Regions from separate parts of the Homo sapiens genome. Here region 2 is linked to region 1. Evidence: promoter capture Hi-C in 16 types of primary human blood cells and fetal thymus (Javierre and others, 2016). All regions are on one chromosome and are shown on one strand. Each heading gives the region's core, a stretch centred on a gene start or on the middle of the fragment in contact. The rest is flanking DNA. Distances are from core to core; before and after follow the strand shown.

Region 1 (6,622 bases), core at 1,710-4,209:
AAGTGAAACACATTTTACCAGACAGAGAAGTTAAAAACAACCAGGTTCATTTTTCCCATTCCTGTAAATTCACTCCCCTTATTTGTGAATCTTCAAGAATCTAGTATAGCCCCTCCCTACCTTTACTCAGGTAAAAGACCAATCACTCATCAATTGCCAAAACGCCTTGACAGTTTAAGGTCTCAATCCTCAGAGTCAGCAAAGCTGAAGTGTCTATGTCCTTTTAAAAGGAGTCTGCATCTCTACTTTAGAAACCATTTTCTCACTGCGCTTGGTGGCTTACGCCTGTGATCCCAGCACTTTGGGAGGCCGAGGCAGGCGGATCACCTGGTTCGAAACCAGCCTGACCAAAATGGCGAAACCCCATCTCTACTAAAAATACAAAAACTAGCCGGGCATGGTGGTGGGTGCCTGTAATCGCAACTACTTGGAGGCTGAGGCAGGAGAACTGCTTGAACCCGGGAGGTGGAGGTTGCAATGAGCCGAGATTGCGCTACTGCACTCCAGCCTGGGCGACAGAACAAGACTCTGTGTCAAAACAAAATAAAATAAAAAGAACCCATTTTCTCTTTCCATAAACACATAGTTTGTCCTCTGCTTTGTCTACATTAAAAAACACGTCTCAGGAGTGTTTCTTCAGCCTCTCAGGAAAACCAAGACACCTCTTGGGCTCCTCTTCTGAGATATTCCACCTGAGAGATCCCACTGACAAGCAGGGTAACAAAAAGCAGAGCTAGAGGGCTGCCTTATGCATATCTGACCTCCAAAACAGCGACAGGTCCCCGGAGCAGCCAGAGACTCCTTTGCAAAGGAGAACTTTTTATAATTTAAAAATAATAAAATGGGCCAAGCACGGTGGTTCACGCCTGTAATCCCAGCACTTTGGGAGGCTGGGGCGGGCGGATCACCTGAGGTCAGAAGTTTGAGACCAGCCTGTCCAGCAATGGAGAAACCCCGAGTGTACTAAAAAAAATACAAAAATTAGCCGGGTATGGTGGCACGTGCCTATAATCCCAGGTACTAGGGAGGCTGAGGCAGGAGAATTGCTTGAACCCAGGAGGCGGAGGTTGCAGTGAACCAAGTTCGCACCACTGCACTCCAGCCTGGGTGACAGAGCAAGACTCCTTCACCCACCTCAAAAAAAATTATAATAAAATAAAATAAAAATAAAGATAACAAAATAGCCAGGCACGGTGGCTCACGCCTGTAATCCCGGCACTTTGAGAGGCCGAGGTGGGTGGATCACCTGACGTGAGGAGTTCAAGACCAGCCTGGCCAACATGGTGAAACCCCATCTCTACTAAAACTACAAAAATTAGCCAGGCGTGGTGGTGGGCATTTGTAATCCCAGCTACTCAGGAGGCTGAGACAGGAGAATCGCTTGAACCCGGGAGGCGGAGGTTGCTGTGAGCCGAGATGATGCCACTGCACTCCTGCCTGGCGACAGAGCGAGACTCCGTCTCAAAAATAAAATAAAATATAATAAACAAATTATATTTTCACATCCCTCACTGGGCAGCCCTCCCAGCTTGTCTCAAACTAGTTTTCTTAACTCTTTTTTCCAGACGGAGTCTCGCACTGTCACCCGAACTGGAGTGCAATAGCACTATCTCGGCTCACCGCAACCTCTGCCTCCCGGGTTCGAGTGATTCCCCTGCCTCAGCTTCCCAAGCAGCTGGGATTACAGGCGCCCGCCACCACACCCGGCTGATTTTTTGTATTTTTAGTAGAGACGGGATTTCACTACGTTGGCTAGGCTGGTCTCCAACTTCTGACCTCGTGATCCGCCCGCCTCGGCCTCCCAAAGTGCTGGGATTACAGACATGAGCCACTGCACCCGGCCTTTTCTCAACTCGTTAAAGCACATTAGTGCCAACTGTGTTATAAGGCAACATGAGTTAGCTATGTTCAGAAAATATTTTAATAGATTGGCCCTCCATCCTTTCGGGTGAGGAGCTGCAAACCGTTTGTAAAAACGCCGGAGTACGGTATTTTTCCTACAGAAGTCTGATGGCTAATTTATCACATTACAGAACTGGTAGTTCTGCACATGGTCTGCTGTGCCCATAAAGAAAGCACATATGTGTCTACTGAGGTTTTACAAACAATACGCTTCTTATCTTAACAGAGAAATCAGTCATTCCATTAACAACGGTAAGGTCTAAATTCCACTAACATTGTTGGTGATACATTAACATCAACATAGTACTTACAATTCACAATTTGCATAAACAATCTCAATTACATAGGTGATGCTTGCAATAGCCCGTTTGAAGCATGACATCTTCCTGGTGTTCAGAAAGGTTAAGTGGGACCTGCCCAAGGTTACCTAACAGCTTTATCAATGGTGGACTTCCTTTCGAACCTGCCTGACTCTAAGCCCCTAGCTCTTTTCCCTAGACCCCTCCCGGCTTTCAAAAGAGGGTTCCCGACTCCCATCCTCTACCCAGAGCAGCCTATTACTCCGGGAGACCGACCCTTCCCCTGCCTGGTTCAGAGGTGGCTTCTTAAGCTCCAGCAGAGCTTTCATCCTCCACCACCCTCCCCCCGCAATCATTCTCTGAAAGAAGCGGAAAGGAGAGGCGACCAAAAGCTCCTGGAGGAAGGGATGATACAAATGGGCTGCTTCACTCCACAGCACGCAACCCCGTCCCCCTCCACCAAGCTGTCCAGCTCTGCGGCCGGCGACCGGGCCACCCGTGCCCCAAATTCTCCCATCATCACCTCAAACTGTACCTCCCCCACGCCCTTCCGTCTCCCACAGTCAGAGCCCACCCCACAAAGTCATGTATCCTTCCGCTAAGTTACCCTCTTCCCACGCGTTGTCCACTCCCCCTCCACCACTACTCACGGTCGGTGACTGGGCCCGGCCCTCATGGCTGCTCCTTTGCCGCCCGCCGCCCGCCGCCACCACTTCTCCACTGCCCGGCCCCTCAGTCACCGGCGCAGCTGTGGGGACTACCCGGAGCCGCTCCTGCGCCTGCGCAGCGTGTAGCGCCTGGGCCCTTTCGGGCCGCACGCGCCTGCGCAGCCCCTGCCGGGGGCGTCTTCCTCAGTGCCTGATGGTCTGGACCCCTGGGTCTCTAGTGGACATGGGAGCTGGCCTTGAAGAATTCTGAGGCTTAGAGAATTTGGCGGCTGCCTCAGGGTACGCCTCTGGAGTACCGTGCCTAGGTTACTAAACCCTTGGATCGCGCTTCCCCAAGGAGCCACAGACTTACTGGCTCTTCCAGAATTCTGCATCCTACTTGCACTTAAAGGCCTGAATTCAGGTGCTCTGAGGTGACCACTGATGATAAATTTGGGTCTTTTTTTTTTTTTTTCTGAGTCGAAGTTTCGCTCTTGTTGTCCAGGTTGGAGTGCAATGGCGTGATCTCGGCTCAAACAACCTCCGCCTCCCGGGTTCAAGCGATTCTCCTGCCTCAGCCTCCCGAGTAGCTGGGATTACAGGCATGCACCACCACGCCCAGCTAATTTTGTATTTTTAGTAGAGACGGGGTTTTATCATGTTGGTCAGGCTGGTCTCGAACTCCCGACCTCAGGTGATCCACCCACCTCAGCCTTCTAAAGCGCTGGGATTACAAGCATGAGCCACCGCGCCCAGCCTGGGTCTTTTTTTTTTTTTTTTTTTTTTGAGACGGAGTTTTGCTCTTGTTGCCCAGGCTGGAGTGCAGTGGCGCGATCTCAGCTCACTGCAACCTCCGCCTCCCGGGTTCAAACGATTCTCCTGCCTCAGCCTCCTGACTAGCTGGGATTACAGGCTTGCACCACCACGCCTGGCTAACTTTTGTATTTTTAGTAGAGACGGGGTTTCACCATGTTGGCCAGGCTGGTCTCGAACTCCTGACCTCAGATGATTCGCCCGCCCCGGCCTCCCAAAGTGCTGGGATTACAGGCCTGAGTCACCATGCCTGGTAAAATTTGGGTCTCTTTCAAGATGATCGTGTCTAGAATGTATCGGGGGTAATTATGTAAAGGCAGCTTTGCCATCCTAGAATACGCTACTAGCTAGGAGGTGCAATGAAGTCCTGGGGACCTTGTCAAGGAGGTGACCTCGCCTAGAATGCACTGGGGACACCGCTAAGTTCAGTATGTTTATCAAGCACATGCTGTTTATTGGACAGAAATGTTCTAGGCATCGCGTGTATGCTATTGAGGAATTCGCAGGCAAATAGTCCCCTGCTTTCCAGCTCTCACTGTGAGCCTGGCCCTTTTTCAAACTGGTAAAAGAAAACCACTAAAGTCCAGTGAGGCCCAACTGTCAGTCCCTAGACTACTGTGCTGCTTTGGCATAGCCTGACAAGAGACTAAGCTCAATCGAGTCCTGAGAATTCAACAAAACAGACTTGAAAGCAGCAGGCAAGAGGAGGTACAGGACTAAACTCTCTCCTCATCACCATGGCTCTTTTTTCTCTCTCAACTCCAGCGCTGGTCTCCTCTCTTCAGAGTTTGGACACATAAGGCCCAAGATACAACGTAAGGGGGAAAAAGAGAAGAAAAAAAGACAAGTTGAGTGCTCAATGAGGAATGTTAAAAAAATTTAAATAGGCCAGGTGCAGTGGCTCACGCCTGTAATCCCAGCACTTTGGGAGGCCGAGGCGGGCGGATCATGAGGTCAGGAGATCGAGACCATCCTGGCTAACACGGTGAAACCCCGTCTCACTAAAAATACAAAAAATTAGCCGGGCGTGGTGGCGGGCGCCTGTAGTCCCAGCTACTCAGGAGGCTGAGGCAAGAGAATGGCGTGAACCCGGGAGGCGGAGCTTGCAGTGAGCCGAGATCAAGCCACTGCATTCCAGCCTGGGCGACAGAGCGAGACTCCGTCTCAAAAGAAAAAAAAATTAAAAATAAAGCTGGGCATAGTGACTTATGCTTGTAATCCCAACATTTTGGGAGGCCAGGTTGGGAGGATTGCTTGAGCCCAGGAGTTAGAGACCAGCCTGGGCAACATAGGGAGACTCATCTCTACAAAAAATCTAAAAAATAGTGGCCAGGCAAGATAGCTCATGCCTGTAAACCCAGCACTTTGGGAGGTTAAGGCGGGCGGATCACTTGAAGCCAGGAATTCGAGACCAGCCTGGCCAACACGGTGAAACCCTGTCTCTACTGAAAAAATACAAAAATTATCTGGGCATGGTGGCATGCACCTGTAGTCCCAGCTACTCAGGAGGCTGAGGCAGGAAAATCGCTTGAACCCAGGAACGGAGGTTACAATGAGCCGAGATCGCACCACTGCACTCCAGCCTGGATAACAGAGTGAGACTCCATCTCAATTAAAAAAATAAATAGGGCCGGGCGCGGTGGCTCAGGCCTGTAATCCCAGCACTTTGGGAGGTCGAGGTGGGCGGATCACGAGGTCAGGAAATCGAGACCATCCTGGCTAACACGGTGAAACCTCATCTCTACTAAAAATATAAAAAATTAGCCGGGCATGGTGGCGGGCCCCTGCAGTCCCAGCTACTTGGGAGGCTGAGGCGGGAGAATGGCGTGAAGCCCGGAGGCAGAGCTTGCAGTGAGCCAAGACGGTGCCACTGCACTCCAGCCTGGGGACAGAGCGAGACTCCATCTCAAAAAAAAAAAATACAAAAATACAAAAAAATTGGCTGGGCGTGGTGGTGGGCGCCTGTAGTCCCAGCTACACGGGAGGCCGAGGCAGGAGAATGGCATGAACTGGGAAGCGGAGCTTGCAGTGAGCCGAGATCGCGCCACTGCACTCCAGCCTTGGCGACAGAGCGAGACTCTGTCTCAAAAAAAAAAGGAAAAAAAGAAAAAATAAATAAATAGGCCAGGCACAGTGGGTCACACCTGTAATCCCAGCACTTTGGGAAGCCGAGGTGGGCAGATCATAAGGTCAGGAGATCGAGACCATTCTGGCTAACACGGTGAAACCCCATCTCTACTAAAAATACAAAAAATTAGCCGGGCATGGTGGCGGGTGCCTGTAGTCCCAGCTACTTGGGGGGCTGAGGTGGGACAATCAATTGAACCCGGGAGGTGGAGGTTGTAGTGAGCCAAGATTGCGCCACTGCAATCCAGCCTGGGTGACAGAGCAAGGCTCCATCTCAAAAAGAAAAATAAATAAATAAATAAGGGTTGGGCCTGGTGGCTCACGCCTGTAATCTCAGCACTTTGGGAGGCCAAGGCGGGTGGATCACGAGGTCAGGAGATCGAGACCATCCTGGCTAACACGGTGAAACCCCGTCTCTACTAAAAATACAAAAAATTAGCTGGGCATGGTGGCGGGCGCCTGTAGTCCCAGGTACACAGGAGGCTGAGGCAGGAGAACGGCGTGAACCCAGGAGGTGGAGGTTGCAGTGAGCCGAGACCATGCCACTGCACTCCAGCCTGGGCGACAGAGCAAGACTCCATCTCAAAAAAAAAAAAAAAAATTAGCTGGATGTGGTGGTGCACACCTGTGGTCCCACCTACTTGGGAGGCTGAGGTGGGAGAATCACTTGAACCCAGGAGGCAGAGGTTGCAGTGAGCCTAGACTACACTACACCGCAGCCTAAGGAACCGAGTGAGACTGTGTCTCAAAAAAATTTTTTTAATTAAAAAAAAAATGTTCAGGCCAGGTACGGTGACTCACGCCTGTAATGTCATCACTTTGGGAGGTGGAGTA
Region 2 (6,622 bases), core at 1,408-3,907, 67 kb after region 1:
CATATGGAGAAGGCCGTGCTACTCTACCTAGAGAGTCCTTACTTGCCTCCCCAGTCATGGCCCCTGTCCTTTCAGAAGGGGGCTGGAGACACCTCCTCAGGGAAGCTTTCCTTCTGGTGTCCCACACTCCCTACTCTCCCACTCCTTCACTCTGCCCTCTCAGCACCGCTCCTCTTGGTATGATACTCACTGGCCCGTGATGATAATGAAATTCACAGGGACACACCCACAAGGCTTGGCTTCCTTCTATGCTGGTCCCCTCCCTTGCTTTAGGGTAGGCTCCCTCTGTTGTGCCTGTGACTAACCTCAGGAAAAATGGTAGCCCTGCTCCTGGGAAGCAGGTAGCTTCCCAGGTAGGATGCTATTTCACATCAAGACTCTCCTCCTCCAGGAATGACAGGGAGGGAAGAAAAAGAGAGGACCCCCAATCCCTCTTCCCTCCCCTCAGGGCACTGAACAAAAACCTACTGCCTGGGAGAGGCCTCAGGTTGGGAAAGCTCCCTCCCACCGCATCTCCGGCCCTCACCTCATCGTAGAATATGCAGGCATGTTTCCCGGACACGTAGTTACAGTGACCATAGTTTGTAAGGCACACATCCATGTCAGCTCCTGCAAGGTGGCAGGAGTAGAGGAAAAGGAAGGCAGAGAACAGATTGTAAGGTGCATGTGTCGGGGAGGTAAGACAGGGAGAGAGTTAGCTTCTGGGTTGGCACTAGCAGAGACTTCAAGGGTGAGTAGCTCAGGGCCCTCCCCTTTTATTTTTGAACAAAAACTGTTGTCTTTTCCAAGCTCCTGATAAAGAACAGCTGTCCCTGCCAGCTGATCTGCTTTAGAACATGTGGCTGCTACCCAGAAGGGAAGAGTGAGCTACTGAAGAGGATGGGATATTTCTATGAAAATACAACATCGGGGTGCAGAGCCTAGAAAATCTTATCACCTTAAAGAAAGGGAAGTTTCTAGGGTAAGGGCTAATCTGTCTGTCCTTCTGTACCAGATACAGAGCTATCGGTCTCTAGGACTTTTAGGGAAAACAAAACAAAACAAAAAACAGATACAGGGCTAACTGAAGATTGGGTATGTGTGAGTCTATCACTCTTTCAAAGACCACCAGGGACAAAGCATCTGCCTTCTCCTTAGGTTCTTCCCTGCAGTGTTTAAAGTGCCTCCCTGGGCAGTAGTCAGAGCTGACTTTCATCTCTGCTGTTGCAACACTGGGCAAAGACAAAGCAAAAGGGCCTGAACAAGGGAAGACAAGGAACTGATTGTCTCTTTTATTTTTGAGACAGGGTCTCACTCTGTTGCCTGGGCTGGAGTGCAGAGGCACAAAAAGGATCACTGCCTGGACCTCCCAGCCTCAGGTGATCTTCCCACCTCAGCCTCCCAAGTAGCTGGGACTATAGGCATGTTAGCCCAGCTAATTTTTTATATTTGTTTTTGGTAGAGATAGGGTTTCACCATGTTGCCCAGGCTGGTCTCGAAGTCCTGGGCTCAAGTGTTCCTCCTGCCTTGTCCTCCCAAAGTGTTGGGATTATAGGCGTGAGCCACCGTGACTGGCTGATTGTCTCTATTCTTAGTTTCTCTTGTCTAGCTATCCACTGATTTAAAGCAGTCAACTCTGGAAAGGGCTTCCCTCACCCCTTTCTAACTTCTGTGGGTAAGGGTGTCAGTCTTTAGGGCTGAACAGATTCAGTGTCTCTCCCAGCTTCCTGGCTGGCTCACCTGTCCCGATGTAGAGGGTTCGATAGCACATGTTCACAGCTCCTCCCAACCCTAAGAGGGGGTAGAACACAGCTCGGGCCTGTACCTCCTTTCTTTGCACTACAAGACAAACATAGGAATAGGATCATTCAGAAACTCAGATCCTGTGATCCAAACATAAACCAACAAAATCTGGACCTTTGGCTCATGGCCTGGAGAAAATCCCGCTGGATGACTCATCTTTCCAAACTCACATCCAACACTGAGCTGCGGCAGGGTAAGGCTTTCTCTCCCCACCCACAGCATTTCCAACACAGGGTACAGAGGACCATCTTTGAAGATGGTCAGAGAAGTCAGAGATGACAGTACTGTGTAAGTTCCTGGGCTCCTGGCTGGCTAATCCGGGATATTCCAGCTGGTACTATAGGGAGAATATGGAAAAACAGACGGCATGGACCAGTGTTTCTCAAACTTTAATGTGCATAAGAATCGCCTACAGATCTTGTTGAAATGCAGATTCTGATTCAATAGGTCTGAGGAGGGGCCTTAGCTCTGCATTTCTTTTGCTGTTTTCTTTAAAAATAGGCAAAAAACCAATGCATTGAGCTCTGCATTTCTAACAAGCTCTCAGGGGCTGCTGATGCTGCTGGTCTGCGAACCACACTTTGAAGCAGCAAGGCTCTTAATGGCCAATGCTCAGACATATCTGAAACAGAGTTAACCACTTGGGGAAAATTTCCAGAAGGTTGGCCTAGTGTTATTCTATTTCTCAACTTGAACTTGAAAAGTTCCCTCTTGGGAAGCCATTCTTTTTAAAATTTTATTTATTTATTTACTTATTTATTTGGAGACAGGGTCTCACTCTGTCACCCAGGCTGGAGTGCAGTGGCACAATCATAGCTCACTGCAGCCTTGACCTCCCAGACTCAAGCGATCCTCCCATCTTAGCCTTCCAAGCAGCTGGGATTACAGGTGTATGCCACCATGCCTGGGTAAGTTTAAAATTATTTGTAGAGATAGGGTCTCACTGTGTTGCCCAGGCTGGTCTCCAACTCCTGGGCTCAAGTGATCCTCCCGCCTCAGCCTCCCAAAGTGCTGGGATTACAGGTGTGAGCCACTGCACTCAGTCGGGAAGCCCTTCTAATTCAAATATTTGAAAGCAAGTAAGCAGAAAGTACACTACATATACCCAAAGGTACTGGTAGCTGCTTTGCTGTGTCTCGAAGTGGACTTATATATGAAAGAAAGTTACAGCAGACTTCCCCAAGTCTGATCAGAAAGCTGTGGTTGCCATCTTGTTCCTGCTCTCTTCAGAAAAAAACCATGGTGCTTTATTAAGCCCATGAAAAGCACACAAGGAGGTTTGAGATACTGGAAGCTCAGATTCTCCATGGAGGCAAGGTGACCATTCGCACACGTAGAGGGGAGATCTGATGATGTGGTGACAGGTGTGTACATGCGCACCTTCTATGTGGTGCCCTCCAGAAGCCAGCTGATGTGTCCCGACACTGCCCGGTGAAGGTTGGACCCGGGAGGGGAAAAGCTGATGTATTCTCTGCAAGGCCAGAAACTTGATCAGCTTCTCGTCCAGCATATTTATCTCGATTTCTATTAGCCAAAGAGAAAGATTAAAAAGCAGCTGAGATGGGAAGTGGAATGTGGAAGCAAATCAGGGTCACAGAGCAAATAGTTTGGCATTTCTAAAATCCAGCCAAGTGATTTTTACTCAAACAGCATTGAGTGCAGAGCGTACAAGGATCTGCAGCTGGGCATCTCACTTGCCATTTGCAGTGAGATGGGCCCCAATGCAGCCTGTGCAGCTGCCTCCTGTAGTTGGGTGGACTGATTTTAATTAAAGTGCCCCTAGAAAGGCAGAGTGGAATAAACCACTTGCCTGTCTGTGGGGGAGGGCCTGGATGTCTGATATTGAGACTTGAACTTTCTACCCACCTTGTGTTCACAGAGATCAAGATCTGTCCCTGTTCTCCTGGACTTTGGGGGTTTCCCACAGATGAGGTCCCTCCTTTGGGAGTGAGGATCTTAGTTTTATTCTGCAAATCCAGGTGATCTGCCTAAAGTGATTTTGTTCTCGTCTCACTGGTTCAGCTTGGCTCTGTCCTCCCTTCATCTTTGATTATGTGTATATGCACATGTAGAAGGCAGAGCTACAGAAGGAGCTTTCTTTTTCACCCCGCCCCCCCATCCAAAAGGATACTCCTCATTCCCATCTCCCCCTAGGCCTCTGGGATCAGGTGTCCCTTCCCTCCCTTTCTGAAATGAGCTGAATGCTGTATAGGAATAGCACCTTCAACATAGCAAACGGTGGAACAGCAGCAGCTCATTCACTCACCTCCATTGACATCCATAAATGCTCGAAGTGAGTTGGTGAGGTCCACCATGGCAGTAGAGTTGGCTGGGAAAGAGGGTACGGTTAAAGCGCTTCCTATGGATAACGTGCCGGGGCTGACCTTGCCATCTGGGGACGGAGCAGGAAGACTGTTACTTACGTCGCCTGAGGGAAACCCACCGTCCAATCCCCCACTGCTGAGACAGGTCTGGATTTCGGACCCAAGGTGATGTTCCCTTCTTGATTCTCAACCCATAGGCTCTGGAACTCCTAGAGCTAAAAACGTGTGGTGAGGAAGGGCAGATGGAACGACAAAGCACCCAGGCACGCAGGAGTCTCCAGAGCACTGAGAACCACTGAAATCCACTGCTCTGGGGAAAGTGGTGGGGCAGCTTCATTCTTTGGGCCATGACCACCTCCCTGCTGCCTCTACTTTAAAATAAGTAGTGCCTGCCCTTATAATTCTTGCCTACTGAAATATGACTCACGGCGTGGAGAATCTACCCACGCTGGTTTTAAGCGATAAACAGAGATAGGAAAACAGCCTGGGAGCGGGGCCATCCTGGGACCAGGGGCTCCCATGCAGAGAAATCACAATCATCTGGTTACCGAGACTCCCAGCTGACTAGGAGGCCGGCTTCAGTTCAGACGGGAGAGACCACAGAGGGTTCCGGCAGCATCTGAAACCTGGTTCAGATGCTGGGGTCAGCAACTTCAAGGTCCTGAGTGCTCTCTGGGGACAGCTGAGAGAGCAGGTCCACAGTAGGCCAAGTACAGACCTGAAGGACCGCCCTTTGGCATGTGGCCTGAGGGCACGCTTCTGGGCTAGAACAATCCCTGTGGGCATCCCACTCTACAGCTCCTCTGAAAGACAGTGCTGCTGTCTAGCCCTGCTTCCTGACATGGAAGTTCATCAGATTAACTCTTTCTGAGAATATGCATCAGGCATGAATCCATTCTTTTGTGTGGATCTGACAATACTGAGGCCATCACGCAGAACCTCAGGCTGATCATAGTAATTCCAGAGAGCACCCTGCCTTCTTTTAAGGTGACAGAACAAAACAGGCAGAGGCCTAGGCCTGGAAGGTATGGGATGGAGTCAGGAGACCTGGGCTGTGGTTCCAATCCTGCCACTGACTCAGTAGGTCATTTTAAGGAAATCACTGAAGCTTTCAGAGCCTAAGCAGTCCCATTTATAAACGGGACAAGTTAACATGTGCTTCCTCTTCTATTACGGAAATGAGAGTAAGACAAACAATACAAAGGCCAAAGTCCTCTGAAGTATTCACAGGGATATAAGTGCTTTTAGAATCTTATTTGCCAGAAAGAGCATAAAATTATTCCAAATCAACCCAAGGCTGAGCAGCACTCACCTGACGATGGCGCTGGTGAGCTGAATCGTTGGTTGGCTGTTGTGGCCAAGATACCATCTCCTGCTGCTTGCGGGGGAGTGAGCACCCGGGTGGCGTTTGGGGGTGAGCCCAGTGGCCTTGAATCTGTCAACGGAGGTCCTATCTGTGATTGGACAGTCTTTCTTTGCAAAGTGCTGGTGTTCTCGATGCTGGCACAAGAGCTGGGAATGGAAGGGGGCAGGCTTGGGACAGGAACCAAACTCCTCTGGGGGCAAGAGCTGGGGCCAGTGGCATTCTCTGTCTTCACAATGATGCCGACGGTGTGGTTCTGAAGGCCCCCAGCCGCTGGTGGCGTGAGGGGCCGGGGCCAGCCTTGCCGGTGTGAGAGGCCTGGTAGTGGGGTGTTAGCGCCTGGAAGTCGCCGGGGGTCCGTGGAATCAGTAGGGCTGCTGTAGAGGTGTGGGCCATTAGCTTTCACCTCTGTGTTCACTGGCCCATTGGCAGTCCCACAAGGGGTTTTCTTGGATTTTTCCGCACAAGAACTGCAGCCGATGTCCTCTAGGGCTGGGGACTGGTGGGGTGGAGAGCAGCTCAGGGAATTCTGGGTGCTAATCCCTGAGGGGCAGGACAAGGGGTAGTGGGAAGGTGTAGGTGTCTTGTCAGCTGTTTGCAGGGAGGTGGTGACTGAGCTGTCAGTCACAATAACAGGCTTAATATCAGCCTTCTCTGTCTGTTCAGAGTCCCAATGCGAAGGCATCTGCTTAGCAGATAAATGTTTCAATATGCTGCACTGGAGCGCAACAACACTACAGAGCCACTGCAATGGAAGGAGAGGAGAGGGGGGTGAGAAGCCTGAGAGGCGCCGGTCCTTCCTGCCACAGTGGCCAGGGCTGCAGCAGAGCTGACAAGCAGTTTCCGAGGTCCCATCATGAATGCTCACAAAGGGTGTGCTTGACTCCTGATAGAATTCCATTTCCATTCCCAAGCAAGACTTATAGGTACCCTCAGCAGGCCAACACTCCCTCTGGCCAACAGAGCTTGGGATCTGCATTTTGACTCTGCCTTTAAGGCTTACTTGTGACCAATATTCAGCAATTACCCCGAGCACCTGTGGTATGTCCAGCACTATCACCTAACCTCTCTATGGGTCTACTCATCTCTTTCTACAGTATAGATTTGCCCATCTCACAGTGCACTGGGGTAACGATGGAGAGAAGCAGACCAG

What was found. Contacts are between HindIII fragments. The CHiCAGO score rates a contact against its expected background, and 5 or more counts as called.
Region 2: a fragment that was not itself captured here is called in contact with the fragment with the promoter of FAM222B in region 1 in 5 of 17 cell types (erythroblasts, naive CD8 T cells, activated CD4 T cells and 2 more); the score reaches 9.6 in erythroblasts.

The regions. Positions count from the first base shown.
Region 1 is chr17:28,839,831-28,846,452 of GRCh38, forward strand. FAM222B (family with sequence similarity 222 member B) reads right to left here and starts at 2,960. Exons shown (of 3, transcript NM_001077498.3): 1 at 2,852-2,960. RefSeq lists an enhancer at 2,539-3,053 and a silencer at 2,739-2,928. The HindIII fragment of the contact is 18,789 bases long and covers 1-6,622 here.
Region 2 is chr17:28,907,064-28,913,685 of GRCh38, forward strand. It overlaps PHF12 (PHD finger protein 12), which reads right to left. Exons shown (of 15, transcript NM_001033561.2): 9 at 5,419-6,214; 10 at 4,049-4,174; 11 at 3,163-3,306; 12 at 1,720-1,818; 13 at 527-609. Among named protein-coding and RNA genes, the nearest start is that of DHRS13, 7.3 kb to the left of the region's middle. RefSeq lists a silencer at 1,668-1,962. The HindIII fragment of the contact is 5,109 bases long and covers 104-5,212 here.